Linked DNA regions of Homo sapiens: regions 1, 2, 3, 4, 5 and 6 are each linked to region 7. Evidence: promoter capture Hi-C in 16 types of primary human blood cells and fetal thymus (Javierre and others, 2016). All regions are on one chromosome and are shown on one strand. Each heading gives the region's core, a stretch centred on a gene start or on the middle of the fragment in contact. The rest is flanking DNA. Distances are from core to core; before and after follow the strand shown. Region 1 holds the start of H2BC6-AS1 (H2BC6 antisense RNA 1). Region 2 has its middle 3.9 kb from the start of HFE. Region 3 holds the start of H1-4 (H1.4 linker histone, cluster member). Region 4 holds the start of H2BC4 (H2B clustered histone 4). Region 5 holds the start of H3C4 (H3 clustered histone 4). Region 6 holds the start of H4C3 (H4 clustered histone 3). Region 7 holds the start of H1-5 (H1.5 linker histone, cluster member).

Region 1 (3,111 bases), core at 53-2,552, 1.7 Mb before region 7:
TGATGTGGCTTTGGTAATGAACCTGAAGTTAAAAACTGGTTAGCTTATGCTAAGCTGCCATTTGAAAGGTCTCCTCCAGCATCTGAATTAAGGGAAACAATGTTTTGAAGCAGTCACAAAACTTTTCTGATGCATTAGATCTGAGGTAGGACCTGATAATTTGTACTTCTAAATTATGCAGGTGATGCTGATGCTGCTGGTCCGGAGACCACTTTGGAGAGTTTTACTTTAAAGGAAATGAAACTGCCCTAAAATGCTAATACTAAATAGCCACACAAAGCCGGAAAAAAGCAAAGAATTTCAAACCGAAGATGAGAGGTCCTGAAAAATAACAGCGGTCATCCTACTCCCGGTGCGGCTATGCGGCCATGAAAAGGAGTCTTGGGGCCGGTCGTGCCCCTCCACGCAGGCTCCCTCATAGGGTCATCCCATCAACCCTCGCCAAAAACGCCGGCCCCCTCATAGGGCCGTCCGGCCACGCCCCTCCGTGCCCTAACCACAGAGCCACACGTTACGCCGCCGCCCCGTTACGCCCATCCGGCTCCCGCATAGGGCGTCACGTACGTTTAACGTCGGCCCGGCGCGCGCGTCCGGGAGGTTGCCCGTAGGCCGCTAACTGGTGGTTCCCAGTCCCCGCCGACTCGGCCTCTTTCTTCTGCGGCCACCAGATCGCGGGATATCGGAGACTTCGAACAATCCGCTGGAGTCCTTTACAGTTTAAAAACAGAGGACCGGCCGGGCGCGGTGGCTCACGCCTGTAATCCCAGCACTTTGGGAGGCCGAGGCGGGCGGATCACGAGTTCAGGAGATAGAGACCATCCTGGCTAACACCGTGAGACCCCGTCCCTATCAAAAGTACAAAAAAATTAGCCGGGTGTGGTGGCACGCGCCTGTAGTCCCAGCTACTCAGGAGGCTGAGGCAGAAGAATCGCTAGAACCAGGGAGGCGGAGGTTGCAGTGACCGAGATCGCGCCGCTGCACTCCAGCCTAGGCGACAGAGCGAGACTGCGTCTCAAAACAAAAAAAACGGAGGATCGAAAATTTTGAAGACTGAGAGCAAGGCAACAATCTTCCCTTGACCTTTTTGCTCCTCTCACAAGGGTTTTTCAGACGGCTGAAACCAACGAAAAGAGTGAGGAAGCAGGCAGAAAATTTCAGCTTTAGTCTCTCAGCATCCTCCTGCTTTCTTCTCGGGGAGCTGGCACTTCCCCCTTCTCTAGTAGCTGTAAATACGCCTCCCAACTCCAAGGAGACCTTTCTTGCATCTCCCTTACTGTTCTCACGCCTGTAGGGCTCTTCGTGTGAGGATTCAGTGTATGTATGTATGTATATGAATGTGTGCGAATAATTATTTCCTAATTGAGTTTTTTTTTAAAAAAATCATCTTCCGGTACACGCAGTGCCGTACTCCATTAAACAGCAGGCACGGTGTCTAGGGTCCGCAGTTCTTTTGGAGGCTCATGAAAATATTTTAATTTCTTCTAAAGTCAGAAGGAAAAAAATGAACATTTAAGTCGAAGAAGATGTTACATATTAATCTTCATATGACTTTAATTTTTTTTTTTTTTTTTTTGAAACGGAGTCTCGCTCTGTCCCCCAGGCTGGAGTACAGTGGCGCAGTCTCGGCTCACTGCAAGCTCTGCCTCCCGGGTTCACGCCATTCTCCTGCCTCAGCTTCCCGAGTAGCTGGGACTACAGTCACCACGCCCGACTAAGTTTTTTTGTATTTTTTAGTAGAGACGGGGTTTCACCGTGTTAGCCAGGATGGTCTCGATCTCCTGACCTCGTGATCCGCCCGCCTCGGCCTCCCAAAGTGCTGGGATTACAGGCGTGAGCCACAACGCCTGGCCTATGCCCACTAATTCCAATTCTTATTTGATCTAATTGTTTATAGATTCTTGTGAACTTTTACCTTGACAATTATGTTATTTTCAAAGATAATCATCTTTTCCTATTGAATCCTTGCTCTTCTGACTGCCTGTTCCTATCTCATGGTATTGGCCAAACCCTGTGATGCCGTGTTGAATAGGAGTACTTTCTCACCACACTTGTCTTCCTTCCGCCTCTATGGGAATCCTTCCAAAACGGCACCATTAAGTGTTATACTCGCTGTAGCTCCTCCTTATGAAGTTCTCTTCTCATTGTAGTCTGTTAAGTGTTTATGATTAAAGAGTGTTATATTTTGTTAAATGCTTTCGCAGTATCTTTGGAGATGATCATGTTTTTTCTTTATTAATCTCTTTTTTATTTTATTTATTTTATTTTATTTTATTTTATTTTTTATTATTTTAGTTTTTATTTTGAGATGGAATCTCACTCTGTCTCCCAGGCTGGAGTGCAGTGCCCTGATCTAAGCTCATTACAACCTCTACCTCCCAGGTTCAAGCGATTCTTCTGCCTCACTTTCCCAAGTAACAGGGACTACAGGTGCGTGCCACCACATCTGGCTAAGTTTTGTATTATCAGAAGAAGATAGGCCGCCATTGGCCAGGCTGGCCTTGAACTCCTGACATTAAGTGATCCACCTGCCTCAGCCTCCTAAAGTGCTAGGAATACAGGCGTGAGCCACTGCTCTGGGCCTTCCTTTATTAATTTCTTAAACTGGCAGATTTAGAATACTAAACTTCCTTCTATTCTTAGAATAAACCCTATATAATCAGCTATTTATTTAAATAACATGGTCTCTGCAATTTCTCCTGGTTTCCATTTTTTCTCATAATAGGCATTTTTTTCTAAAAAACAAAAATGAATGTTCATTAGTGAGACAAAACTATAATTTTGTTTTTTTCTTCTTTCTCTCTTCCTTCCTTTTTAAAATTTGTATTCTCCAGTTTTGCTAATAATGTTATACAATTTTACAAGAAAAAAGTGAGTAGGAGAGCTGTTTTTCTATAGTAACAGATTCTGTGAAATAGGTATCATGCCAAGTGAGGTGGCACGTCCCTGTAGTCCCAGCTACTCAGGAGGTGAAGCAGAAGGACCACTTGAGCCCAGGAATTGGAGACTGTAGTGTGCTGCCATCATGCCTGTGTATAGCTTCTGCGCTACAGCCTAGGCAACGTAGCGAGAACCATCTCAGAAAAAAAAAAAAAAAAAAAGAGATAATCTATT
Region 2 (3,082 bases), core at 374-2,873, 1.8 Mb before region 7:
AAGACCATTTTATGATGCAGACTTCTGCTTTTTTAAAGTTTGGGGGGAAGGGGAAACATTTTTATTCTATAATGCTGAAATTTCATTTTTCTTTTCTCTTTTTTAAGACCAAGTCTTGCTCTCTCACCAAGGCTAGAGTGCAGTGGCGTGATCTCAGTTCACTGCAACCTCCACCTCCCGGGTTCAAGCAATTCTCCTGCCTCAGCCTCCTGAGTAGCTGGGACTACAGGCACCATGCCCGGCTAGGATAACATTTTTTGTTTTTAGTAGAGATGGGGTTTCACCATGTTGGCCAGAGTAGTCTAGAACTCCTGACCTCAAGTGATCTGCCCGCCTCATCCTCCCGAAGTGCTGAGATTACAGGTGTGAGGTACAGCATCTGGCCTCATGCTGAGATTTCTTTCATTACCAGTTCAAACACCTTTCACTTTTCAAGGCACAAGGAGAGGAATTCCATGTGTTGACACTGGGAGGAAGGGTACAGACCTACTTAAAAGATTCAAAACTTCTATGACAGTAAAAGAAATGTATATCAAGTTCCTTAGGGCTGCCGTAACAAAGTACTATCAACTGGGTGGCTTAGAACAAAAGAAATTTATTCTCTCACAGTTACGTAGGCCAGTTGAGATCAAGGTATTATCAGGGCCAAGATCCCTCTGTAGCCTCTGGGGAAGGATTCTTTCTTGCCTGTTTCCACTTCTAGCAGCTTCCTGTGTTTGGTTTGTGGCAGCATAACTCCAATCTCTGCCTCCATCTCTACCTGGCCATCATCCCTCTGTGTCTGTGAGGACCCCAGTCATTGGTTGGAGGACTCACCCTATTCCACTATAATCTCTTCTTAACCAGTGAACTCACCGTATTCCAGATAAGGTCAGGTTCACAGCTACTGAGGGTTAGGACAGAGTATCTTTTGGGGAGATGCAATTCATCCCATAAGTGGGTGGAAAAGGATGATTAACAAGTGGTATGTGGGGATGTATTGTTTTGCATCTACGTAGCTCTCACCCCATTTCTTTCCACAACACACATTTGTCACTCTATTCTTTATTAGGTTTACAGAGAAAAGTAGATCTTCAACCACTTTCCTGGGATGTGGATACAGCTCTTTTTTTGGAGACAGGGTCTCATTCTGTCACCTAGACTGGTGTGCAGTAGCACTATCATGGCTGACTACAGCCTCAATGTCCCAGGCTTAAGTGATCTTCCCAACCTCCTGAGTGGCTGGGACCACAAGTGTGTGCCACCACACCTGACTAATTTTATTTTTTAATTGTTTTGTGAAGACAGCATCTCCCTATGTTTCCCAGGCTGGTCTTGAATTCCTGGGCTCAAGCCATCCTCCTGCCTCGGCCTCCCAAAGTGCTGGGATTACAGGCAAGAGCCTCCATGCCTGGCCTTCAACTCTTGACCTTATGAACACAGCCCTATACCAGTTCCCTTCATGCATGTGCCTATAAGCTAAACCCTTTCCCAAGTGTACATGAAAATCTGAACCCCAACAAATATGGCCTAATTCTAAATCTGACTTTCCCAGGAGTAATTTTTGTCATTTCCAGCTTACCAGCCTTTGTGAGTGTTGAATTTCAGCATTTCTGTTTGCTTGCAGCAGAAGGTGGAGCCAGGATAGGGTGGCTCAAGATTAGAGTTTCTTCCTTAACAGTTCAGTCAACTTTTTAATCTTGGATTTATAGCTTCCTACCTGCTCTCTTAAAGGTGAAATGATCTATTCACCTTCAGACCATTTGCCCTCGGGGTCTCACTGAGCAATCTATGGCTTAAGTCTTCTAAGTCTCTTAATGGCCAAATACAATGGACAATTTTCAGGTATATCTGACACCATTTCTCTGCAGCCTTTGGCACCTATAACCACTCCATGGCTTCCACAATGTGATTGGTCATTTCTTTTTTGTTTATATGACAAGTTTTTATTCTTCTTCTGCCTGTTAAATGCGCCTGACCCCCAGTGTTCTGATTTTCACTATTTTTCTTAAAAAAAAAAGTTTAAATGAAAAAAGTTTCTTATGAAAATATTAAAACATATACAAAAATAGAATAGACATTGATAATAGATCCTAAAATTCCTAGGGAAATTCAGCAGACTGAGAATAGCTAATATAGTCTTCCAAAAAAAGATCAAATTTGAAGTTGAGAAACTTCTTGAATTCAATTTACTAAAAAGCTATAGTAATCAAGACAGTGTAGTCCTGACATAAAGATAGGATTATAGTCTGGGTGTGGTGGCTCATGCCTGTAATCCCAGCACTTTGGGAGGCTGAGGTGGGCAGATCACCTGAGGTCAGGAGTTCCAGACCAGCCTGACCAACATGGTGAAACCCCGTCTCTACTAAAAATACAAAAATTAACCAGGCATGGTGGCAGGTACCTGTAATCCCAGCTGCTTGGGAGGCTGAGGCAGGAGAATTGCTTGAACCTGGGAGGAGGAGCCAGTGGCCGGGATTGGGCCACTGCACTCCAACCTGGGCAATAGAGTGAGGCTCTGTCAAAAAAAAAAAAAGATAGGATTATAGATTATAGCATAATGGGATAAAATTGAGACTCCAGAAATAAACTCTCACATTTATGGTAGATTGATTTTTGATAAGGGTGCCAAAACACTTCAATGAAAAAAGAGTCTTCTCAACAAGTGATGGTGGAACAACTGAATAACCACATTTTTGTTCTATCTGGGGCCCTGATTCAAAAACCCAGGCAAAGATGGAGAGAAATCAGAACTCTCATACACTGCTGATAGGAGGATAAAATGCTTACTTTGGAAAAGAATGTGGCAATTCCTCAAAAGGTTAAACAGTGTTACCATATGACCCAGCAAACCCACTTCTAGATATATAACCAAAAGAAATCAAAACATAAGTCTACAAAAAAACTTGTACATAAATGTTTATAACAGCACTATTCCCAATAGCCATAAAGTAGAAACAAACCAATGTCCATCGGCTGATGAATGAATAAATAAAATATGTTGTGGTATGTCCTTATAATAGATATTATTGGTCCATGAAAAACATACATAAAAACATTATGCTAAATGAAAGAAGCCAGTCACGGCAAAGCAATATATTAT
Region 3 (2,829 bases), core at 206-2,705, 1.7 Mb before region 7:
GATACAGGGTTTCACCGTGTTAGCCAGGATGGTCTTGATCTCCTGACCTCGTGATCCGCCCGTCTCGGCCTCCCAAAGTGCTGGGATTACAGGCGTGAGCCACCGCGCCCGGACCAGAAATAATTCTTTTGGTTGGGCTTTCATTGCCAGCTTACATACACTCTTCTTGATTGGGCAACTACCTAAAGAAATTCACTCAGACATTGTTCAAAGGATGTTTTCAGAGGGCAATGATTTATAATAGCTTAGATAGACTCTCAAAGCTCTACTTCTGAGATCGAAATTTGAACTTGTCGTTTAATCACTACATGTCACTTATTTTTCTTTCTATTGAGCTCTGGGAAGCATTGGAATACAATCTTCAGGGGGATTGAAACCATACGTGGTGAGTGGACTAGTCATTCCTCAACTATTCAGTAATAATAGGGGCTGGGTTTCACTAATAATGGGAGTAGATGTTTCAATCTACGTTTCTTATTTATTTTGCCTTATCATCAATGCTTGAATTTCAGCTCTAAGCTACTTTATTGCAATTTGGTTCTGAAGCATATGCCAAAAGCACTCAGCAAGGCTGCAGACAAATGCTTTAAAGTAAAGTGCACCTCCACTTCCAGTGACTTTATGAACATCACATTTGAAAATTAATCCTTTTTCATCTCTGTACCCTGAGTACATTTTGGACTTCCCTTCGTTCCCAAATACCCTGAATTCAAGGTATCTCAATCCATGGAGCAATTGTCCAGAGGAAGAGAGAAGCAACAGCCCCGCCCCCAACCCTTGGGAGCAGAAAGGGAAAGAATTATCCAAAGAATTGTTTAAAAACTCAGATGTAGCGGACAGATGTAAAACCATGGCTGTATAGATTGATGTCCCAGGGGTCCAAAACTTAATCTCAAATGGGCAATAATTTGTTTGGCATTAAACTAAACCAGTTTGATGAACTCAAATGCCCTCGGCTCAATAGGCAGGACTCTCCGAGGAGCCTGTGTTACTTCCCTCACTTAAGTGCAGATTTGTAATAAAAATCTTAATGCCAGTGGCATGCTTTTTGGATATATAAGAAGCTAACCACTTGGAGTATCATATTTGAGAGGTCAGAAAAGTCCACAGTTAAAGATCGGTTTATAATTTACGAAGAAAATAGAAAGTTTTGTTTCTCTGAGTTGAAATTTGCCAAGCACGGCGGGAAATATTGCAAGTTTTTGGCACAAGGCTTTGTGCTTCCCTTATAATTTGAGATCTGCGTGAAGCCTGAGGGTTCGGGGATCATTATCTGAGAAAAACCGGGCAGTTCGGTGTAGACAATTTTTATATTTTTGGCTTTTTTTGAGGTGTAACAAACACAACTCGGGATCCGAGAGGACACTCTGCGGCTGCCAGCGAGGCGGGCTGGACAGCGCACCAATCACGGCGCAGCTCCGCCCTATATAAACGGGCGGGCGCAGCGCCGCGGCTCGAGTCCCGGCCAGTGCCTCTGCTTCCGGCTCGAATTGCTCTCGCTCACGCTTGCCTTCAACATGTCCGAGACTGCGCCTGCCGCGCCCGCTGCTCCGGCCCCTGCCGAGAAGACTCCCGTGAAGAAGAAGGCCCGCAAGTCTGCAGGTGCGGCCAAGCGCAAAGCGTCTGGGCCCCCGGTGTCCGAGCTCATTACTAAAGCTGTTGCCGCCTCCAAGGAGCGCAGCGGCGTATCTTTGGCCGCTCTCAAGAAAGCGCTGGCAGCCGCTGGCTATGACGTGGAGAAGAACAACAGCCGCATCAAGCTGGGTCTCAAGAGCCTGGTGAGCAAGGGCACCCTGGTGCAGACCAAGGGCACCGGCGCGTCGGGTTCCTTCAAACTCAACAAGAAGGCGGCCTCTGGGGAAGCCAAGCCTAAGGCTAAAAAGGCAGGCGCGGCCAAGGCCAAGAAGCCAGCAGGAGCGGCGAAGAAGCCCAAGAAGGCGACGGGGGCGGCCACCCCCAAGAAGAGCGCCAAGAAGACCCCAAAGAAGGCGAAGAAGCCGGCTGCAGCTGCTGGAGCCAAAAAAGCGAAAAGCCCGAAAAAGGCGAAAGCAGCCAAGCCAAAAAAGGCGCCCAAGAGCCCAGCGAAGGCCAAAGCAGTTAAACCCAAGGCGGCTAAACCAAAGACCGCCAAGCCCAAGGCAGCCAAGCCAAAGAAGGCGGCAGCCAAGAAAAAGTAGAAAGTTCCTTTGGCCAACTGCTTAGAAGCCCAACACAACCCAAAGGCTCTTTTCAGAGCCACCCACCGCTCTCAGTAAAAGAGCTGTTGCACTATTAGGGGGCGTGGCTCGGGAAAACGCTGCTAAGCAGGGGCGGGTCTCCCGGGAACAAAGTCGGGGAGAGGAGTGGGATTTTGTGTGTCTCCGGAGCTATTTTTGACTAAGGCGTCGCGTCGCCCAAGCCGGAGTGCAGTGGCGTCATCTCGATTTTGCGTTCTCGAGTGTCGGAGTTGAACCCATTTGGGCCTCCCTTGTGCTTTGCACTTTTAGCAGGCCCTGGCCTCCAGATAGCATGGGAAAAAAAATGTTGGGATTTTCCCGGGTTTCTAAGCTGGGTTTTTCCGAGTTCCAAACACGGCACAGTGTATCAGTTTCTGTGCTGGTTACAAGCCTACTGGTTATCCCTATCGAGTATGGCAGGCAGTGAGGGACTTCAGAGGAGTACGTCTTAGGACAAGTGGCATAGTACTGACATTATTTCCGAAGGGCTACATTTCAAGTGCTTGGGGAGACTACTGCCACATAACTGAAAATTAGAAACCGACACTGCAGAAAAATACTTGGTCCTTAAATGTGGCATTTGGATGGATTAAGGACTTGCCGAAACGTAAAA
Region 4 (2,741 bases), core at 30-2,529, 1.7 Mb before region 7:
GCTTGTCAATTTACCCAGCAGTTAAGAGTTGGCTTCTCCTAAAGCAACTTTCAAACTTGTCTGCATGTTACAAGCCCCCTACGGAGATTTTAAGTTTCAATCAGGCAACACACCATTTATGGCTGACTGAGCACTGGGATTCAAGCAAAATTTGATTTGATTTGAATCTTGAATAAACCAGTTGAATAGAATAAGATGTATGAAGCAACATCTGGCGCAGTGCTTACATCTTTAGTTCTGTACTGCCTTAGTGTTGTTATCAAAACTGACGCATATTAGGTTAAAAGACTATTACCGGGGCAGTTGGAAACCCAGGAGACACACCCTTCAGTATACTACGAAGGTGTGCGCCACGAAAACAGAGGGGGAGTCCTTCCTTAGGCAGTTACTGCCCAGGTTCCCACTCCGGTCCGCTATGTAAATCAGAGTCTCAAAACAGCTTTCCCTCGATTGGTTAATATTTAAAATGACAGGACAGCCTATTGGCTAGAAGCTGGTGGCGAAATTATGACATTACGGCAACCGTTGATCCTGGCGACGTAGACAGGGACAGACAGCTGGGTCTGAAACCTAAGCGAGCCTGCGGTTTCTTCCGGGAACGCCGAGTTAGCAAAATGGCCGCTTGTCTCCATTTTAAATTTAAGCACAACGAATTGACCCCAAAGCCATTTTTAATGGCTGGCTTCTTTCGGGTTCAGGACCCTTTGTCCCTCTCTAAGCTGCAACACTTGTCCCCACCCCTCTCCAGTTCCTATATTCTAATACCCCTCCGCCGCCAAATAAAATTTGGCGTCTGGCCACAGCTCTTTTAGTGGGTATCTGGGTGGCTCTTAAAAGAGCCTTTGGGGTTAGGTGTTAAGACGCTTACTTGGAATGTTTACTTGGAGCTGGTGTACTTGGTGACGGCCTTGGTGCCCTCCGACACGGCGTGCTTGGCCAGCTCTCCGGGAAGCAGCAGGCGCACGGCCGTCTGGATCTCCCTGGAGGTGATGGTCGAGCGCTTGTTGTAATGCGCCAGGCGGGAAGCCTCGCCCGCGATGCGCTCAAATATGTCGTTAACGAAAGAATTCATGATGCCCATGGCCTTGGAAGAGATGCCAGTGTCGGGATGGACCTGTTTCAGCACCTTGTACACGTACACAGAGTAACTCTCCTTGCGGCTGCGCTTGCGCTTCTTGCCATCTTTCTTCTGCGCTTTGGTCACTGCCTTCTTGGAGCCCTTCTTCGGGGCGGGAGCAGACTTGGCTGGCTCAGGCATCTTAAAACACCAGAAATGTGTCGAAAGTAAAGAGCGGATTTCTGCTACTTATAGGGCTTTTATGCTAATGAGGGATGGAGAGTACCTCTTAGTTAATTGGAAGACAAACTGCACAGTTGTCATCCGTGGGCAGAGCTATGCAAATGAGGTATGAAAGTACAGCTTTTCTATTGGCTATCTGACTAGCATTTGCTACCGACCAATCAAAAAGTCGGATTTACTCCCCAGGAACTACCTATAAAAGCGGCCATGTTTTACATATTTCTTGATTTTGTTTGTTTTCTCGTGAGCTTAGGCCGCTGGTTTTGGTGATTTTTGTCTGATTGCAATGTCTGGACGTGGTAAGCAAGGAGGCAAAGCTCGCGCCAAAGCGAAATCCCGCTCTTCTCGCGCTGGTCTCCAGTTCCCGGTGGGCCGAGTGCACCGCCTGCTCCGTAAAGGCAACTACGCAGAGCGGGTTGGGGCAGGCGCGCCGGTGTACCTGGCGGCGGTGTTAGAGTACCTGACCGCCGAGATCCTGGAGCTGGCCGGCAACGCGGCTCGCGACAACAAGAAGACTCGCATCATCCCGCGCCACTTGCAGCTGGCCATCCGCAACGACGAGGAGCTCAACAAACTGCTAGGCCGGGTGACCATTGCTCAGGGCGGCGTCCTTCCTAACATCCAGGCCGTGCTTCTGCCTAAGAAGACCGAGAGTCACCACAAGGCCAAGGGCAAGTGATTTGACAGGTATCTGAGCTCCCGGAAACGCTATCAAACCCAAAGGCTCTTTTCAGAGCCCCCCTACCGTTTCAAAGGAAGAGCTAACCTCACTGCTTGTAGGTAGAAGGAAAAAAGGCACTAAGGTAAGTTAATTTTATGCCAACCTTGAGCAAAGCGTATTACTGCTTTTCGGTTTTTGGGGAGCGCTGTTACTAAAGGTTGGTCTGTTTGTATGTAATAGTAGGTCAGTTACGTACTATCATACTCTAAAGAAATATTCTAGTTAATGCTTTGTAAGATCGACCATAGTTAGTGCCTAACAGTTTACATGCAGGGATGCCTCGTGATCTAAACACTTCGTTGTGATTACTTTAAAAATGTAAATTGAAGGCAAAACTCTAACGTGTTGGTAACCTTGTTTGGTCCTCCGACTAGTCCCCCGTCTATTTTTTTCTCAATTTAGGCTGTAGGCAGCCTCACTTTCCTAATTCTGTGAGAGTTATAGGTCCCATTCCTGCTAAAGTGCAGAGTATATTACCTAAAAGTTAACCAGGGAGTTGAAAGGTGTCTGTAAAACAGACTAATGTCCCTAATGTAGAACGGTGCCTGACATGCAACTTACTCTTGTATTTTAAGAAGCTCAAGCGTCTAGGTTGCCATTACAGGCAGAAAAGGAAATAGAGTGGGGCCTGTGGCCACTCAAAAACCTTTGCTTTCTGCTCACCCCTCTAATCCTACCACTTTGGGAGGCCGAGGGGGCTGATCACCTGAGGTCACGACT
Region 5 (3,040 bases), core at 532-3,031, 1.7 Mb before region 7:
TCGTGGATCTCTCCTGAGTTCAGCTATGCAAACAGTCCCAATATCAGGAGAATCAGTGATCATTGTATTTCCCATTTTCCCAAGGAAACGTTGAACATTTACTGGAACCCTCCCAAAGTAACTAAACGTCCAAATAGTTACAAGAAGCTATCATGAAATATTTTCAGCCCCAGCTAATTTTATCAGAAAGGGCTGTTGTTCTAAGTATCCGTACTGCTGTTCTTGTGGAGAAATTCAAAAAGAACCTGTTGTTTCTCTTCTCATATAAAACAGATTTCCTCGTTAAATCTCAATGAAAATCAAGTAGTTGTTCAATGTATGAGAAGCCAAAAATGTGTAGGCTATTATTAGAAGACAGCAAACAATTGAAGACACGAATGGAAGAATTTATATTTTAAATGAAAATCAAGAAGTTGTCCCTCTGAACTGTGAATCTCTGAAAGTTGGAACTTTTGATAAAGGCCGAGGCTGCCTTAAGTAAAAACTAGAGAAAGAAAATGTAAAGATCATAACACCGTAGCCGTTCCAGTTCATTGTAGAATAGAATTGGTGTGATTCCTCCTCAGGAAATTTAAACTATTTTGATTTTCTGAATTTCCGCAAACACAACTCAGAAACAGGGTTGAGACTAGGTTGCTGCCAAGCTGAAAGACTGAGCTGGGAACCAATCAGCGCGCAGCGTGTCTGTGTGTGACACACACGTAATCACAGACACACTCGCAGCCTGACTTTTTTTTTTTTTAACTGTTAGATATCCAAACCTACAATCATGTCCGAAACTGTACATGCCGTGACTCCTGGTCTATCTCCCAAGTCAAAGACTGAAGTAAAGAAAAAGGTTGCAAGTCCGAAGTTGCAGTGAAGTGCAAGATGTCCAGGCCCCTCCGGTATGTGAGTTCATCACTAATGACTTAGCCGTCTCCAAGAAGCGCAGCGGCCTTCTCTGTGGCCGCGCTCAAGTAGGTGTTGGCGGCTACGATATGAAGATCGGCCCTTGCCGGTCGCGGTGGCCTACGTTTGTAATCTCAGCATTTTGTGAGGCCAAGGCGGGAGAATCTCTTAAGCTAAGGAGTTGTTTTTGGTGGTTTTGTTTGTCCTTGGGGATTTTTTTTTTTTTTTTGAAGGAGTCTAGCTCTGCTGCCCAGGCTGGAGTGCAGTGGTGTGATCTCGGTTCACTGCAACTTCCGCCTCCCGGGTTCAAGCCCTTCTCCTGCCTCAGCTTTCCATGTAGCTGGGACTGCAGGCGTGTGCCACCACACCCGGCTAATTTTTGTATTCTCAGTAGAGACGAAGTTTCAATGTGTTGGGCAGGCTGGTCTCGAACTCTTGGCATCACGTGATCCGCCCGCCTTGGCATCCTAAAGTGCTGTGATTACAGGCCTGAGCCACCTCGCCTGGCCAAGCTAAGGAGTTTTGAGGCCAGCCTGGGTAACACAGTGAGACCTCGTCCCTAAAAATAAATACAAATTTTTAAAAATTATTTGAATAAAGTTGGGCCTTGAAAACAAACGAGGGCATCTTCGTGCTAAGGAGTGCAGCGCCTCAGGTTCATTCCCGCCAAACCAGGCAGTGTTAGGAAAATCAAGACCGAGGCCAGAAAAGCCGCTGCAGTCATGCCCAAGACAGCTGTCCTGGCAGCCGAGAGGCCCAAGAAAGCTTGGGGCGTCCTTATTCCGAAAAAGAGTACTAAGCGGACCCCAAAAGCTTTTGCTGGTGGAGGCTGCTGGAGAAGGTTGGTTGGTCAAAGGTGGCCAAGAAAGTTCCCAAGCCGGAGGCATCCAAGCCTAAGAAAGCGGCCCCCAAAACAAGGAGATATAAGAGTACCTTAAAGGCTGTTTTAAGAACTCCCCAATTATAATAAAGCTTTTTGCACCAATTCCGTGAGGGGAGGGGGAACGGATAGAGGCAAGAATGCTTACTTACCTTGAGTGAACAGAGGTTCCAGTTTACGGACAGCAACAGTAAACAGCAACTTTTATAGAAAAGGTGGTTGGCTCTGAAAAGAGCCTTTGGGTTTTGGTTAGCACACATTCACAAGACAATTTACGCCCTCTCCCCACGAATGCGGCGAGCAAGCTGGATGTCCTTGGGCATGATAGTCACTCGCTTGGCGTGAATGGCGCATAGGTTGGTGTCCTCAAACAGCCCCACCAGGTAGGCCTCGCAGGCCTCCTGCAGCGCCATCACCGCCGAGCTCTGAAAACGCAGATCAGTCTTGAAGTCCTGCGCGATCTCACGGACTAGACGCTGGAATGGCAGTTTGCGAATCAGCAGCTCGGTCGACTTCTGGTAGCGGCGGATCTCGCGCAGAGCCACCGTGCCGGGCCGGTAACGGTGGGGCTTCTTCACGCCGCCGGTGGCTGGAGCGCTCTTTCGAGCAGCCTTGGTGGCCAGCTGCTTGCGTGGCGCTTTCCCACCCGTGGACTTGCGAGCAGTCTGCTTGGTACGAGCCATTGCGAACTTCTAAACCCTGCTAAATGACGAAAAAACGAAAGTCTAGCCTTTCGTACCCGTATATATAAAGACACCCCTGTTCTGATTGGACAAGGCAGCCTTTCCCCTGCAGCTCGATTGGTGGAGACGCCCACTCCCTGACAGAACATCTCCTGCATGTAGACCAAATATTAAAACTTTCCTCCGTCCATCTTTAACTGCTGGTGTTTTCAACCCTTTCCCCTCTGTGCCATGTTTCTAGCTTTTATTTAAAACGTACTTTGGTTTTCCTTGGCAAAATTGTGTCTAGCTACTAGGATGACGTGTCTTAATTTTTTTTTAAATGTTGGCGCTGAAACTGGCTTTGATCAACGTTTTAAAAAGACGCGCGCTAGTTGTGATTGGCCAAGTGATTTCTTTTTACCCTCTTAAGTTTAGAAAGGTTAATTTCATATCTTGATTTGTCTATTTAAACTTGGAGATATTTTCAATAATTTGTTCCAAATGCACCATGACTATTAACTCATAAGTAACAATATGAAACCTGATGTTAAGCTACATGAACACATTTAATTTCACCACAATATGTCATCCTCATATGAAAGCA
Region 6 (2,866 bases), core at 103-2,602, 1.8 Mb before region 7:
TGTAATGTTTGACATTTCTTCCTAGCTAAGTCTCTAGTTATAAGGTCTGTGTTGTGGCATGTGGACAGTGAGTGGAAGAACCTAAGAACTCAATTTGGGGCAGAAGAATGTAATCAATTATTTCAGAAGTGATACAAACAATATGACATGTAGAGCATTCTGGCCTTTCCTGGGTCTTTTTTCTCCATTCCTGGATTTCTTCTCTTCATGTGAGCAAGTCTGAGGTTACTATATAATGTCTCTCACAGGCCACAGCCCCATTCTAAATATTCCCAATAGAAATTCATTTATTAACCAGAGAGTGGTGGGTGGGGTTGTTTTTGTTTTTTAAACAAAAGTGGATCTTATGGGCATTCTGGAAAGCTCCCGCAGGAAGCTAAGAATAAAATTTTGAATTGAGAAGTCCCTTTCTTCAAACCACATTCAGACCCAATTCTGCTATTCTATTTATTTTTCAAGGGGATTAGCCTTATTTTAACACCAATAATCTTATCACAAAAACCTCCCAGAGGAAGACCCTGTAGATTTTGTAATGACCTTAATCAAGTATTAGCCCTACACTTCAATTAATCCCCAACTGTACAAAACGAATGTTCTTTTCTCTAAAGCTGTAGCAAGTTGAAAGGGGATTAAAAACGGAGGGAAGGGAAGAGTGTTTGGAATTTCAGGCACAGCAAACAGGCACAGCAGACCAGGAAGAGCGTCCCGGGAAAACATATTATCCAGACTTAAGTTTATATTCCCTGTCTCTCTCAGACTTTTGCAGAAAAATGAGTCATTCAACAAATATTTGAATCGAGATAGGGAAAGTGACGAGGAAGAAGTTTGCACTTATGAGGTTTTAATTTGCAATTATTTGGCTACCTTTTTGCCTTCCCAAAACATAGGGTCTTTAGGAGTGAAACTTCATAGCCAAACTTATACCTTGTCCAGCACAGAGAAGGCCATCAAAATGCCTGGTTTAAATAAAAATATTAAAATGATTGGGAGGGTAAATCCCTTGACCTATAAATCTGACCTCCTTTAAACATTATTTGTATGTTCCCCAATAAACTATTCCGTAATTTATTAGTTAGCAAGTGGAAATAAAAAGAAATGTGGAATGGGGCTATGCTTAGCGTCATTAAGCTGACAGGAATACAGCGCATTCAACTTGCAAACACCCTTCCACTCCCACAAAGAGCAAGCTGTCACTGGCCAATCAAAACAATGAACCATAATGAAACAGTTTTTCTTGCTCCACCCACTTGGTGACCAAATTTGAAAAAAAAAAAAAACCGCGCCAACTCATGTTGTTTTCAATCAGGTCCGCCAAGTTTGTATTTAAGGAACTGTTTCAGTTCATACCTTCCACTGCGATAGGAATCATGTCTGGTCGCGGCAAAGGCGGAAAAGGCTTGGGGAAGGGTGGTGCTAAGCGCCATCGTAAGGTGCTCCGGGATAACATCCAGGGCATTACAAAACCGGCTATTCGCCGTTTGGCTCGGCGCGGTGGCGTCAAGCGCATTTCCGGTCTTATCTATGAGGAGACTCGAGGTGTGCTTAAGGTTTTCTTAGAGAACGTTATTCGAGACGCCGTCACCTATACGGAGCACGCCAAGCGCAAAACTGTCACAGCCATGGATGTAGTATATGCCCTAAAACGTCAGGGGCGCACTCTGTATGGCTTCGGCGGCTGAATCTAAGAATACGCGGTCTCCTGAGAACTTCAAAAAACAAAAACAAAAAAACCCAAAGGCCCTTTTCAGGGCCGCTCACAAAGTCGTTTAAAGAGCTGAAATGCGTTGCGAGAATGAGTTTGGATGACAGAAATAACCGTGACATCCTGCATAAGAATGAATTGTGTTTGCCATGACCGGCCACACTGTGACAAAATTTCAAAGCATAAAGTAGGCATAGAGAGGTAAGCGCTAATAAAGTGATTGGCTCCACAAAAAGCATTTTGCTGGGCGCAGTGGCTCACGACTGTAATCCCAGCACTTTGGGAGGCCAAAGCTAGTGTATCACTTGAGATCAAGAATCCGAGACCAGCCTGGCCAAAATGGTGAAACCCCCTCTACCAAAAAAAATACAAAACTTAGCCGGGCGTGGTGGTCTGCACCTGTAGGCCCAGCTAGCCCGGAAGCAGAGATTGCAGTGAGCCGAGATCGCGCCACTCCCCTCCAGCCTGGGAGACAGAGAGAGACTCCTCAAAAAAAAAAAAAAAAAAAAAAAAAAAAATTATGTATTTTAGAGCATTCTAAGAATGGTACTTTGGACTTAACCGAAGGGCTGGAGGCGCGTGTTGAACAAAGGTTATCACCTTTTGGCTCATGCGGCACACAGCTATGTAAATAAAGCATCTTTAGGGACAAGCTCTCATTTGCGGAGGGTTCTATGGCTGTTGTCCTATTGGCCAAAACAAAGTGGTCTAAGTCCGGGCGCGGTGGCTCACGCCTGTATTCCCAGCAGTTTGGTAGGCCAAGGTGGGTGGATCACGAGGTCTGGCGTTCAAGACCAGCCTGGCCAAGATGGTGAAACCCCGTCTACTAAAAATACAAAAATTAGCCGGGCGTGGTGGCGGGCACCTGTAATCCCAGCTACGTGGGAGGCTGAGCCAGAGAACTGCTTGAACCCAGGAGGCAGAGGTTGCAGTGAACCGAGATTGTGCCACTGCACTCTAGCCTGGGTGACAGAGCGAGGCTCCATCCAAAACAAAACAAAACAAAAAAGTGGTCTAATAATCCCCAGAACTGGAGGAAGAACCATAACTTATTGATTTTGTTTTTAACCTTATGTATGCCAGGCATGCTAGCCTTGTATACATACAAGGCTAGAGGAGCAAAGGTGCAGGAAGCCATCTTGAGGGAGTCCCATATTATTGAGA
Region 7 (2,823 bases), core at 64-2,563:
GTGACAGCGAGAACCTGACTTGAGGAAAAAAAAATAATCCAGTACAGAATGACACGGTCATATCAAATTGGCATGTAATAGAGACCCCATCTTGAAACTTGCTACTATATTGTCTTGTGCGTTGATAGCATATTATATTAATGCCGAACACATTAGTGACGCCGAAGTAGCTGGTGCCTAAATGGCTTAAACGCGGAAAAACCACATACAGATGATGGAACAAAAACTGGCCAATCAGATTATAGAGCGGGCTTTTTAAAATATAAGAAGCTTCTTTGTAGCTAGGCGTCTGACAAAAAGCTTGACACCAACTTAACAAAAACCAACGGCTGGAATTCATACTCTAATAACAGACTGCATGGGTAAACTACGTGGGGAGTCCAACCAACACCCTGGACTCTTGCTTGCCTTGCGTTACTCGATTAGGGTTGAGGGAGAACTGCCCGAGATTTTTCGAATGCAAGGAATCTTGCTGCCTGATCTAACATGTTGTGCACAGCCATTTTTTAGAGGTCTCTGGGTGGCTCTGAAAAGAGCCTTTGGGGCTTTGTTGCGGTTTTCACACGCCAGCTTCCTACTTCTTTTTGGCAGCCGCCTTCTTGGCCTTTGCAGCTTTAGGTTTTGCTGCTTTGGGCTTAGCGGCTTTGGGCTTTGCCGCCTTCGGCTTAACTGCCTTGGGCTTGGCAGGACTCTTGGTTGCCTTTTTCGGTTTGGCAGCGGCCTTGGCCTTCTTAGGGCTCTTCGCCACCTTTTTGACGCCAGCCGCCGCGGGCTTCTTCGCCTTCTTCGGAGTCTTCTTCACTGCCTTTTTCGCCCCTGCAGCCTTCTTGGCCTTCTTAGGCGTGGCCCCCGCGGGCTTCTTAGCTTTAGCGGCGCCTGCCTTCTTGGCTTTGGGCTTGGCTTCCCCGGAGGCCGCCTTCTTGTTGAGTTTAAAGGAGCCAGAAGCACCAGTGCCCTTGGTCTGCACCAGGGTGCCCTTGCTCACCAAGCTCTTGAGGCCCAGCTTAATGCGGCTGTTATTCTTCTCCACGTCGTAGCCACCGGCCGCTAAGGCCTTCTTAAGGGCTGCCAAAGAAAGGCCATTGCGCTCCTTAGAAGCAGCCACAGCCTTGGTGATCAGCTCTGAGACTGGGGGCCCCGTCGCTTTGCGCTTAGCAGCGCCGGCGCCGGCAGCCTTCTTAGTTGCCTTCTTCTTAGCCGGGGATTTCTCCACCGGCGCTGGGGTGGCTGTCTCGGCAGGAGCGGTTTCCGACATGGTGGCAAGAAACTGCTAGAAGAGAATAAGCTCGAAATCTAAAGAGCAGGTTTTGCGTTGCTGCTATGCTCGGGCCCCGGGCTTATATAAGCCGGCGCTGCCCTGTGATTGGTGGAGCGTCCAATCCACCGCCCTCTGGCCGCCGCCGCTCGCGGTTGGACTCCCAAATTGTGTTTGTTAGTCCTCAAAATTTGATTAAATGCTTAAAACAATGGTACAGAATTTGGCACTTTGAAGCTCCAAAGGAGGAAAACAGCCTCCAGGTTCACATACTTGTTTGTGTTTTCAAGAATCTTGTGCAATTGATGAAAGATATTTTAAAAAATCCCTTCAGCTTTTCATAAGAATCCATTGGGCTGAGGGCATCATGTTAGTTAGTAGCGTGTCGCGATAAATTTCTACTAAGTATCCAGTGAAAGTTATTTTTAAAAATTTGCCCATGAGTTCATGCTTTGATTTTTGCAAGAGAAAAGACACTGGGTTCCTTGGTTTGGGCATGAAGTTTGTTTCTAACTGTAGCAAGTAACACAGGCACAGGACAGCTGGTTGCCTACAGCCCCAACTTAACCACATAGACTTGACTTTACAAACTGGTTCTGTGTCCTAGGAGTTTCCATGTGCTAATGTCTTTACAGAATGGGATTTTGCAGCTTGGAAGAGTTCCACAGTCAGAGTGACTTCTTCTGCATTGCAGCACCAGTAATACAAATCGCTTTGACTTAAGGATCTAACTACTCAGATTCACATTCAAACTTAAATGTGTTATGTTTTCTAATTAGAGTGTTTTCTCTTTTTAGTTCCTGGGCAAATCCATTAAAAAAGGGGAAGAAAAATAATATAGATAATTCAGTTTAGAGAAAACTCAAACTTGTGGAAAATTATTCAAGAGCTCCCAGTGATCCTCAAATGCACAAACTGTTTAGGTGGCCCAGGACACTGTCAGGTTTTCGAAATGTTCTCACTGCTCCCCCTGAATCTCCACCCACATTTAACAAGCTGCACCATCAGGAATACTCTCTTCTATGAGCAGCCAGGATACATCAATATGGGTATTTTTGTGTGTTTTAGCGCTAATATTTTAGAAGAATATCTGGCTATTGACTGTGAAAAGGTTGGATTGGATATTGAGCGACTTCACATTATAGAGGTTCAGAGGAACTCAGGAAAACATAGGCAAATACACTGAGGTTGAAATAAATGAAGTTTACAATTTATGGGAGGTGGAGGGGATTGGACAGGATGCCTGGATGATAAAAATGATCAAATGATGATTTGGATTCCTAATGAAATCAACAGTCACTTATTTCTCATTCTTGAAATGCTGTGCAAGAAAATTTAAAGTAGCCAATGCACTTCATCTTCTAAGAACTCCTGGAGAAGTTGGCAGACTATGGCCAAATCTGGACAATGGCTTTTTTCTGTATGGCCCTCAAGCTAAGAAGTGTCTTTATGTTTTAAAAGTATTGTTAAAAAAAAAAAAAACAAAAACAAAGGCTGGGCACGGTGGTTCATGTCTGTAATCTCAGCACTTGGGGACACTGGGATAGGTGGGTTGCTTGAGCTCAGGA

Evidence for each region. The method cuts DNA at HindIII sites, captures the fragments that hold promoters and counts their contacts. A CHiCAGO score of 5 or more calls a contact.
Region 1: a contact is called between the fragment with the promoter of H2BC6-AS1 here and the fragment with the promoter of H1-5 in region 7, in 15 of 17 cell types (erythroblasts, M0 macrophages, total B cells and 12 more). The highest score is 19.1, in erythroblasts.
Region 2: a fragment that was not itself captured here is called in contact with the fragment with the promoter of H1-5 in region 7 in 4 of 17 cell types (monocytes, fetal thymus, total B cells and 1 more); the score reaches 8.2 in monocytes.
Region 3: the fragment with the promoter of H1-4 here is called in contact with the fragment with the promoter of H1-5 in region 7 in 14 of 17 cell types (non-activated CD4 T cells, fetal thymus, total B cells and 11 more); the score reaches 13.3 in non-activated CD4 T cells.
Region 4: a contact is called between the fragment with the promoter of H2BC4 here and the fragment with the promoter of H1-5 in region 7, in 15 of 17 cell types (activated CD4 T cells, neutrophils, M0 macrophages and 12 more). The highest score is 21.3, in activated CD4 T cells.
Region 5: a contact is called between a fragment that was not itself captured here and the fragment with the promoter of H1-5 in region 7, in 17 of 17 cell types (fetal thymus, M0 macrophages, erythroblasts and 14 more). The highest score is 34.8, in fetal thymus.
Region 6: a contact is called between the fragment with the promoter of H4C3 here and the fragment with the promoter of H1-5 in region 7, in 17 of 17 cell types (M0 macrophages, activated CD4 T cells, erythroblasts and 14 more). The highest score is 18.9, in M0 macrophages.

Annotation. Positions count from the first base shown.
Region 1 is chr6:26,171,471-26,174,581 of GRCh38, forward strand. H2BC6-AS1 (H2BC6 antisense RNA 1) reads right to left here and starts at 1,303. Exons shown (of 3, transcript NR_186648.1): 1 at 565-1,303. RefSeq lists an enhancer at 377-1,269. The HindIII fragment of the contact is 22,011 bases long and covers 1-3,111 here.
Region 2 is chr6:26,082,024-26,085,105 of GRCh38, forward strand. No RefSeq gene overlaps it. Among named protein-coding and RNA genes, the nearest start is that of HFE, 3.9 kb to the right of the region's middle. The HindIII fragment of the contact is 4,963 bases long and covers 1-3,082 here.
Region 3 is chr6:26,154,874-26,157,702 of GRCh38, forward strand. H1-4 (H1.4 linker histone, cluster member) reads left to right here and starts at 1,456. Exons shown (of 1, transcript NM_005321.3): 1 at 1,456-2,242. The coding sequence starts at 1,518. The coding sequence ends at 2,177. RefSeq lists enhancers at 1,184-1,935, 1,460-1,619, 1,880-1,959, 2,689-2,829 and a silencer at 2,250-2,299. The HindIII fragment of the contact is 19,818 bases long and covers 1-2,829 here.
Region 4 is chr6:26,122,647-26,125,387 of GRCh38, forward strand. H2BC4 (H2B clustered histone 4) reads right to left here and starts at 1,280. Exons shown (of 1, transcript NM_003526.3): 1 at 821-1,280. The coding sequence starts at 1,258. The coding sequence ends at 878. H2AC6 (H2A clustered histone 6) reads left to right here and starts at 1,526. Exons shown (of 1, transcript NM_003512.4): 1 at 1,526-2,044. The coding sequence starts at 1,587. The coding sequence ends at 1,979. RefSeq lists enhancers at 1-71, 72-757, 205-1,404, 453-1,192, 1,436-2,635 and 4 more and a silencer at 1,064-1,429. The HindIII fragment of the contact is 15,442 bases long and covers 1-2,741 here.
Region 5 is chr6:26,194,797-26,197,836 of GRCh38, forward strand. H3C4 (H3 clustered histone 4) reads right to left here and starts at 2,490. Exons shown (of 1, transcript NM_001376937.1): 1 at 1,988-2,490. The coding sequence starts at 2,454. The coding sequence ends at 2,044. It also overlaps the pseudogene H1-12P. RefSeq lists enhancers at 821-870, 1,617-2,218, 1,731-1,840, 2,219-2,819. The HindIII fragment of the contact is 159 bases long and covers 1,703-1,861 here.
Region 6 is chr6:26,102,581-26,105,446 of GRCh38, forward strand. It overlaps H4C3 (H4 clustered histone 3), which reads left to right and starts at 1,353. Exons shown (of 1, transcript NM_003542.4): 1 at 1,353-1,757. The coding sequence starts at 1,368. The coding sequence ends at 1,679. RefSeq lists enhancers at 891-1,000, 1,025-1,715. The HindIII fragment of the contact is 10,429 bases long and covers 1-2,866 here.
Region 7 is chr6:27,866,275-27,869,097 of GRCh38, forward strand. H1-5 (H1.5 linker histone, cluster member) reads right to left here and starts at 1,314. Exons shown (of 1, transcript NM_005322.3): 1 at 518-1,314. The coding sequence starts at 1,255. The coding sequence ends at 575. RefSeq lists enhancers at 1,134-1,243, 1,504-1,573. The HindIII fragment of the contact is 3,270 bases long and covers 299-2,823 here.